Linked DNA regions of Homo sapiens: region 2 is linked to region 1. The links are contacts of gene promoters, found by promoter capture Hi-C in human tissues and cell types (Jung and others, 2019). All regions are on one chromosome and are shown on one strand. The core of a region is centred on a gene start or on the middle of the fragment in contact, and the rest is flanking DNA. Distances in the headings are between cores, read along the strand shown.

Evidence for each region. The method cuts DNA at HindIII sites, captures the fragments that hold promoters and counts their contacts. A contact is called where the count stands out against the background at its distance.
Region 2: a fragment that was not itself captured here is called in contact with the fragment with the promoter of FHAD1 in region 1 in 2 of the 25 tissues and cell types used here (IMR-90 fibroblasts and pancreas).

The regions. Positions count from the first base shown.
Region 1 is chr1:15,245,076-15,249,688 of GRCh38, forward strand. It overlaps FHAD1 (forkhead associated phosphopeptide binding domain 1), which reads left to right and starts at 2,148. Exons shown (of 34, transcript NM_001391957.1): 1 at 2,148-2,320. RefSeq lists silencers at 1,983-2,156, 2,174-2,413. The HindIII fragment of the contact is 8,594 bases long and covers 1-4,613 here.
Region 2 is chr1:15,079,288-15,083,900 of GRCh38, forward strand. The region is part of intron 8 of KAZN (kazrin, periplakin interacting protein); the gene reads left to right. Among named protein-coding and RNA genes, the nearest start is that of TMEM51-AS1, 71 kb to the right of the region's middle. The HindIII fragment of the contact is 3,369 bases long and covers 168-3,536 here.

The DNA.
Region 1 (4,613 bases), core at 898-3,397:
TCTTTAGGAAACTGATAGAGTGAGAACTCATGCACCCTACAGGAACAGCACCAAGCCATCCATGAGGGATTCGCCCGCATGATCCAAGCACCTCCCGCCAGGCCCCACCTCCAACACTGAGGAGCAAATTTCAACATGAGATTTGGAGGGGTCAAATATTCTAACTATAGCAAGTGGCAAAAAGAAGGGAAGAGGGATAGAGTGTTGAGGTTTTTATTTTGTTTGGATGTGCTTTTGTTGTTCTTATTTTTATTTGCTTTTGTTGTTCTTATTTTTATTTGCTTTTGCTGTTCTTATTGTTTTTATTTGCTCTTTTTTGTTGTTTATTAGATTTCATGGTGGTTGTTTCATTGTTTCAAAAAACCAATTTTAGAAAAGATGATATGTGAGTAAAAAGCTAAAGTAAAGAAGGCAAAGGAGACTCTTGAGGGGAAGTGCATTCCAGGCAGAGGAATGGGCAAGAGCAAAGGCTCTGAGGCAGAAACGTGTGGGAAGCTGAGCTTGACCCTCTCTGTTCCTGTGAAGCCATCACTTGGGTCCCAGCCCTTGTGGTCCCTCCTAACATTTTACGCCTAGAATCTTTCTGGTTGTAGGAAACTGATCCAGGCAGAACCTTCCAGACTGAGGGCCTGGAAGAGATTTGTAGGGACAGGCTCCGGGAGAGGTCTCTGCAGTTCAGCTGCATAAATCAGGGTTTTGTCAAGCTTGTTGCAAATGCACATTCCTGGATTATGTCCCAGGCCTGCTAAATCAGAATCTCTGGGGTCTGTGCCCAGAAGTCCGCATTTCTAAAAGCCTCCAGGCACGTTTGAGCATCTTCACTGTATATTCCACCACAAATCGATGTCCATGATTTCTCTCTCAGATCCTCTTCCTATTGACTAGGTGTATTAGTCTGTTCTCACACTGCTATAAAGTAATTCCTTGAGACTGAATAATTTACAAAGAAAAGAAGTTTAATTGACTCACAGTTCTGCACTGCTAGGGAGGCCTCAGGAAACTTACAGTTATGGCGGAAGGCCAAGGGGAAGCAAGGAAGCTAGCATGTTGTAACATGGTGTAGCAGGAGAGAGAGAGAGCAAAGGGGGAAGTGCCACACTTTTAAACCATCAGATCTCATGAGAACTCACTCGCTATCATGAGAAAAGCAAGCGGGAAGTCTGCCCCCATGATTCAATCACCTCCCACCAGGCCCCTCTTCCAACACGTGGGGAGTGCAATTCGAGATGAAATTTGGGTGGGGACACACAGCCAAACCGTATCACTAGGGTAGAATGTGCCATAGTTCATCTCTCTTAGAAAAACGTTTAGAGTTTTTCTTGAGGTGTCTGGTCAGCCATTTCCTGCCAGTGAAAGGAATCACTCTCCAGGTAGAGTCAGCAGGAGATAGGATTTCCTGCTGGAGATAGTGGCGGGAGATAGGATTTGCACATCTGCTCAACACACTCCATCCCGCGAGTCCTGTGCCGGCTGACAAGCGGTTTCTTAAGGACAGTAACTGTTCCAGGTGTATTCTGGGATCAGCGTGTGACACTCATAGGACTCAAAAGATGTTTGCAGAGATAGAGAAAGGGCAAAAGAATGAATAAATGTCACTCTTAACAGGGAGGAGCAGAGGCAGCAGGATTGTGAGTTTGGAAATATTTTTTCCCCAGCACATGGAAGAAATCCTCATTCTTTCAAAATTTTTCATTCCACCCCATCCCTTTCCCAATCCCCACCCCACTCCCAGAGATCCCCTCTTCTTACTCTTTCTATTTTCTGGCCTGTAACGGAAAGGACTAGAGATTTGGGTAGGGCAGGGGGCATACTAACCTCCAAGGGTCTCATGAGTTCAGCTCCATCAATCTCCTACCTCTCCCTATCGCCCCCGACCCTCCCTCAACGCATCCAGCTTACAGTGAGGGGTAATGGAAAGGATTCTTGAATCAAATCTCCTCCCTGCTCCTTCCTCGCTGTAAAACCTTGGGCCATTTCTGTGACCTCTGAGCCTCCGCTTTCCTATCTGTGAAATGGGGCAGGCTCGTGGGGCCTGGAGCATTCAGCAGGCGGTAACCCAGTGGGCGTTCCCTGCACGGTGCCACGCCCCCTCTGCCGCGCAGGCCACGCCCTCATCTATTAGGCTGGACCCCGCGGCGCCTGGCGGCGTTGCCATGGCAACGCGCGTACACAGGCCGGCCGGGCGGGCGGGGTGCCGGGTGCGAGCTGGAGACTCCGCGGGAGCGCGGCCGGGAGGCTTCGCCCCGGAGCTGGCCCGACGCCTCCCGAGCTGGCAGGGCTCTCGGCGGAGGTCGGAGCGTGGGCTTCCTCCTCCCGCCAGGTGAGTGCGGCGCGGGAAGGGGTGGCGGGCCGAGACCGGGGACCGGAAGGGGCGGCCCAGCGAGGACTAGCCCTGGCAGGAGGAGGGGTGGCTCCCCGGCCCCATCCTCCTGGATCCAGGCTCCGGTCCCCAGGAGCACCCCAGTAGCTACCCCAACACCAGCCCCTCCTTTCCAGATGCAGGCCCCACCCCGCCCGCGGAGGAAGCCCCCGGGAGCCTTAGACCCTCCTTGGCACCAGCCATGCCACTCTGGGAAGTCCTGGGGGTTACAGCTGGGATTAGGAGGGGCATCCCTGCTGCCCCTGACTTACGAACGACACCCACCCGGCGGTCAGAGAGACTCCCCCCTTGCCTAACCTCTCCCTTCCCAAATACAACACTGAGGAATTTCTAGGGCTCCCAGGCCACTTAAGATCTGGTAACCCCTCAACAGAAATTTTGCTTCTCTATCTCACTTGTGACCTATAAGCAGGGAGTGCAGATGCCTGAAGCTCTTTTGCTCTTTTGCATGGTCGGTGCCCTGTGTCTTAGAACTAATTTACAGAGTTTAACGCATCTAATCACTTTCTACAGTGTTTTCAGGTAGGAAAGTGACTGCACAGGGCAAGATTAAAGTGGGGAAATAGGGCCCAACCCATTCAGCTAAAGAAATAGACTTTTTTTTTTTTTTCCAGAATGTCATCTAGGATAAATACTGAAGGGGAAAATGAAAGGTAGTTACTGTCAGAGGTTCTTAGGCTACCCTGACTTACTTTTAAGCATTGTTTTGTACTTTCATTCATTCATGATTTACTGAGCACCACTATGTGTCAGGCATGGCAGCGCTGGGGGCCAGAGGGGAGTAATGAACAGACTGTGAGGAAATGCAAAGGGTCTGAGATTTTTACACTACTTGCAAGCTAAGTTAGCCTGCCACTGCTTAATGATGCTAGCAGAAGACCAGAGACTCCAGGACCAGAGACAAAGGATGTTATTACTCACAGCACAGCAGGCACTGTGAGCTCATGTTTGCGTTGGTTCCCCTTGCCCTGCAAGTACCCCGGGGTGATGCAGGACAGCTCAGGTGGATGCTGTGCACACTGCGAGTCTGTTTCCCAGCTAAGGAACCCCAAGCTCAGGAAACTCCAGTCTTTTAAAAGGGGCTGCTAGCCAGTGCCCAACCTTTGCCCTGGAAGGAGATGACCTTTTTTTTTTTTTTTTAATTGAGACAGAGTCTTGCTCTGTCTCCCAAGCTAGATAGAGTGCAGTGGCACAATCTCAGCTCACTGCAACCTCTGCTGCACGGTTTCAAGTGATTCTCCTGCCTCAGACTTCCGATTAGCTGGGACTACAGGTGCAAGCCACCATGCCCGGCTAATTTTTTTGTGTTTTTAGTAGAGACAGGGTTTCGCCATGTTGGCCAGGCTGGTCTCAAACTCCTGACCTCAGGTGATCCGTCCACCTGGGCCTCCCAAAGTGCTAGGATTACAGGCATGAGCCACCGTGCCCAGCCAGAGATGACATTTTTATCATAAATCTGCACTCTGCCCTGGATAGGGACACTATCCCTATCCTCTCAGGATATTTGCCCTACAGATGTCCTTGGAAGATTGTCTGGAACAAAATCTGTCAGTGTCTTTGCTCTGAAGATGGGTACAAACACAGGAAACCCATGGAGAATTGAGTTTAACAAAAACAACACAGTTTGGGCTCTCTTGGAACGTATCTCAGTGAAAGGGAAACAGTAAACAGCTAAGTAAAGAACAAGAAAATGACAGAGAATGATAAGCTCAAGGAAGGAGCCACAGCAGTGACACATGCTAGCTAGACAACAAAGTGACTGGTGACGCCTTTAGCTGGGGTGGTCAGGTAGCTACCGCAAGGCACCAGCTGTGGAAACATCGGGGGGAAGAGCTAAAAAAAAAAAAAAAGCCAGTCATTCAGATTTGGGGTTTTACTCTGGAGGCATTTCCTGTGGCTTTCCCACAAAAGAGACATTTCTCGAAAGTTGACTTTAGATTACTTTTACTTTAGTTTGGATGTGGTGCTTGATGATGTAGTCCTCTGCAATTGAAGATTAATAACTCAGGCAATTTGAGGGCAACAGGGCATGGTTCTTTTGGAAAAAGAAGTGTCTTTTTATCCCTATTAAAGACAGCAGACTTAAAAATAAAATTCTCATTATATGAAAGTATTAATATTTCTGAGGATTTCTCATAGGCTTCGGAATTTACAAACATAAACTATCTGGCTTGTTTTTATTTCTCTTACTCCCAAGGGTCTTTTCTTTTTTTGCAGAGGATAGAATTCTGGT
Region 2 (4,613 bases), core at 602-3,101, 170 kb before region 1:
TTGCCAGGGAGGGGGCTCATTCAAGCCAAAGAGGCAAAATTGGTGAAAATCTAGCTAGGGAGTGAATTAATCCAGTTAATTAATTATTAAAGTAATAACTAGTCGTTAAATTGTGGACACAAGATGAAGGACCTTTTGTCACAATTCAATACTGTTGGCTTATTTTTTTTTTTAGTGAAACCCAACATAATTTCAGATATTTTACTAAACAATGTGAAAGTGGGGTTGGGGCACAGCTGATTTCCTGAAACCCACAGCCATCCATCGCCCCCAGCTTTGCCTCCAAGAGCTGTACAGATGCACACGTGCCCGGCCTCTGCATGGGTGCGTGGAGAAGGATGGTCTTCTTGCCCTGGCCACCTGTGTCAAGATCCCCCCCTCACTTCTCATGGGATCCACCTTTCAGGGCTGCCCACTGGCAGAGAAGCCTGCCGGGAAAACATGTCAGAAAAGAGGAGTCAGTGTGGGACTTGCCCAAGGAGGCCAGCAGCTGGAGAAAGATGGGCTTCGGCTGCACTTGCAATTGAGACTATAAGAAGGACTTCCCAAATGTGGGTGCTGCTGCAGCAGTGGAACAGGTTAGCAAGGAAGAAAGAGGAAAGCTTTTGATGTATAGATATATATGTAAAAGCATAAAGTCATTGTCATTGGATAACTATGTGTTTGTCTTCCCTGGACCTCTTAGCAGCTTCCTCCTAAGTGCATAAACTTAGAGAATACTTGTCAAGTACCTGCCTAGGAACTGAGTGCAGAGCAGTGGGGACCCTGGCCAACCCCAGGATCTCAATTCCCTGGCCCTTTGGAAAATTTTCAGAGTGTGGCAGGAGGGACTGAAGGAGGAGGATGTCCTCCGAGGTTGGGAGAAGGGTGGCTGGTCATGGGAAAAAGCACAAGTCTAGGCCTTTGCAAGACGGTGGCACCAAAATGAGGGGGCGCCCATGTGATTTTTTAAAAGTATAAAGCAGTTATTGTTGGTAAAAGCAGCACTCTGCTGGACTTTTCTATTTACTTTATGATGTCGTAAATAGGGACACGTTGGGGTGGGAGGTACCACCACTGTTTTAGCCCAGGGCCTCCCAAGGGTGAGCCTGGCCCTGGGGTCAGGGGTGGTGCAGGTTGGTGGCAGGGCCCCTGCCACCTCGCTGCCCACCAAGGGTCCTGCCATCAGCCCCCAGCAGCCACAGTGGTGAGTGACTGATAGGCTCTCCTCCTGATGCTCTTCACACCCACGCTGTCCCTGGTCCTGTGGGCTACCACAGAAGCCTTTCACACATTTCATAAGTATTTCATGGGGCTTGTGACTGAGGGATCAGCAAAGCATCTACATCCAACAGGGCAGCCATGATCGGGCCATAAAAAGTTGTTTTTTCACATTATCATGAAGTGTTTAAAAAATGAGAATTCAGCTTTTGGAGCTACATGTGCTGATGGAGGCTCCCCTGCCACTTCCCAAGGGCAGGGAGTGTTGACAGTAGTTGGCTGCCTGAACAGAGCTGGGCTGGGCTGAGAACAGAGGCCCCGGGGTAGAAGGGAGTAGGACCCTCCCTGTGCCTTAGGGCATGCTGGGGACGCTGGGAGCAGCTACACTCGGTGCTCCCCAGCAGCTTGTGGTTGGAGGCCAGGGATGCTGCTACATGTCCTACGATGCACGGGACAGCCCCATGACAAAGAAATCTGGCCCCAAATGCCGAGTGCCAAAGTTCAGAGGCCTTGCCGTAGGCAGAGGGACAAGAGAATGGTAGCATCTACTGCATAAGAGGGGCCACAGGTGACCCTGCTGTGGCTGGAAGAGGCGTGGACGAGGCGGGGTTGGCAGAAGATGAGACCACAGAGGAAGGCCTGCTCCCTCCCTCCCTCCGTTCCTCCCTTCCTGCCTTCTTTTACTCAATACTTAGAGGGCTCATTCAATTGCAGGCAGTGCTGGGCCAGGGCTGGCTCACACAGGCCCACGGATGGCTCTCTTCCCAACTCCACGTCCAGTGACAGCCTGCCGGTCACTGAAATTGGCCACAATAGGAGTATTTACACCACAGAAATTGGCAAGCAAATGCTAAAACCAGTGTACCTCTGGAAAATATAAGAGCCGGTTGTTAAACGTGGTTGGGCCCTTGCTAGGGACTAGAGATGTCTAGGGAGCAAAACCAGGCCCAGCGCCTGCTCATGTGCAGTTTATGGTCTGGTGGGAGACACAGACTTTCATCGAATAATTACACAACTGTTCGTTTCAGCTGTGAGAGATGTCATGCAGGAAAGGTTCCAGGAATTAATGACAGCGTGTGTGTGTGTGTGTGTGAGTGTGTGTGTTGGGGAGTTGTAGGGTACCCACACTAGGTGACCAGGAAAGGAGTCCCTGAAATAATCAGTATTGAAACAGAGCCCTGAGCCTGTGTAAGCTTCACCAGGCAGAGGAAAGTGACAGGCCGCTGTTCAGGCCAAGGGAACGGCAGGTGCAGGGATTGGAGAGGGGGAATTAGGGGCATCGGGGAAATGCAGGAAGCCCAGGGTGCCAAGGGCAGGGGTGAGAAGCTAAGGATGAAGCTGGCAAGGTCGGCCTGTGGGTCACAGCAAGGACCTTGGGCTTTACCAGGGAGCCATTGAAGGATGATGAGCAGAAGAGGTCCCTGGGAAGATACCATTTTTTAAAAAAATTTCCTCTGGGCTTGAAGAGGATGGAATGAAAGAGAAAGAGGGAGGTAGGGTGTTGAGATACAGCTGGAGTGCTCCAGATAGGAGATGGTGGAGCCAACTGAGACAGGGGACAGGTGATGGAGACTCAGGAGTGATGGAATTCAGCAGGGGACGTTGCAACCTTAGCCTGCCCTCACCAAGCTCACTGCCTCAACTCTGCCTCAGTGGCAGCCGAGGTCCAAGTGCTCAGCCCCCCTATCTGAGGTCTGAGACCCTATGGGGCAGCAACAGGCCCAGCCAGGTGCAGGGACACATTCAGCCACCTCACTTGACCTCCAGGGAAGCCTGGTTCCCTGCGCCACCTCCAACTCAGACACACAAGACACATTTACAACTAAAGCTTTTCTATCAGGCTCCAGGGAGCTCTGCATCCAGGCACACATTTGACCCCAGGGATGCAGATGCCAGGGAGGTGCCAATGTGCTTGATGCTGCAGACATCAAAAGAGGCTCAGAAGCCCAGGGCATGGGTCACTCAGCCACAGGCTGGGTATAGACTCAAAATTTTAAATAGTAAAAGAAGAAAAAAAATTAATTAAAATGCTAGAGCACTAAGTCTTTCCCATAGCTGCTGCCAAGGGTGTCTGCCAATGGCACTCTGAGGTCAGGGACATGCGGGACCAGGATGAAGAATTCCACCTCCCTCTCACTCGCCATGCAGGGTGGGCATAGGAGAATTTACAAGGCCTTTACCTCTAAGCCTCTGCAGTTTGTTTTTGTTTGTTTTGTTTTGTTTGAGACGGAGTCTCGCTCTGTCGCTCAGGCTAGAGTGCAGTGGCATGATCTCGACTCACTGCAACTTCCACCTCCCAGGTTCAAGCGATTCTCATGCCTCAGCCTCTCAAGTAGCTGGGATTACAGGTGCGTGCCACCATACCTGGCTAATTTTTGTATTTTTAGGAGAGACAGGGTTTCATGTTGGCTAGGCTGGTCTCGAACTCCTGACTTCAATTGACCTACCTCTGCATTTTTAACCACCTCCCTGGTAGCTGACATCCCTGATCTAAAGACCACTCTAGGAGCAGTCTCCCTCCTCTAAGTCCCAGCCCTACTGCAAGACTGTGGGATGGACCACGTGACCTTGAGGGCACCATTTAGCCCTAGAATTCTGAATCCCACTGGGTGGGAGGCCCAGGTGACCCCATTCATGATGCCATTTGAGCAGCAAGTACCAGGGTGCTCCAAACTCTTCGGAGGTAGGCACCTTTCCTTGCTCTGGATGGCTCCTAGACAGGCATGTGGACTCAAGCCTGTGCAGCCCCTTTTAGTTGCAAATGTCAACCTCAGGCTAGGTGGAGGGGGGACTGTTTCAGGGCAAAAATGGTGGAAAGTAGTACATAGCAAAACCTTCTCAAAGCTTCTCCCAGACACTGGTGAATGGTGCACTGGGCCTGTCCGGCCATCACCTCTGGCTCCAGGCTGCCTGTGTCACTCCAGCCCAGGGCTCACCCCCGCCAAAGTCTACCATCCTTCCATCCCGCCTTTCCATGCCACCTGTCCCCGGTAGCTTAGTAAGCATTAGGCATGAGTGTCTCTGGTCATAGAATGAATATGCAGGCACTGTACGGTTTGGTAGAGCAGTCCAAAGGATGGACAGACACGCAGAGCCCCAAGTTCAGTGGCAACACCCATGTGAACATCGGCCTGTCTTTCCCGATCACAGGCCTTTGGATCCCATCAAGTCTGTCTCGGTGCTTAGGCCTGTCTCTCTGTCTCTCTCTGTGTCTGTCTCTCACTCTGAGTCATGGCTGGCTTCAAGTTCCCCAGCCTGGCAGGCAGGGCCAGGAGCCATTTCCCAGCCTGTGAGAGTATCTTCCCACACCCCACACACCATCCTGCCTCTTGCCAGTTTGAGCAATCCTTGCCAATGTTATGTAACCAAGCACAGGCGTTCAAGAACAGGCGAGAGGGCTGCTCACATAGGTT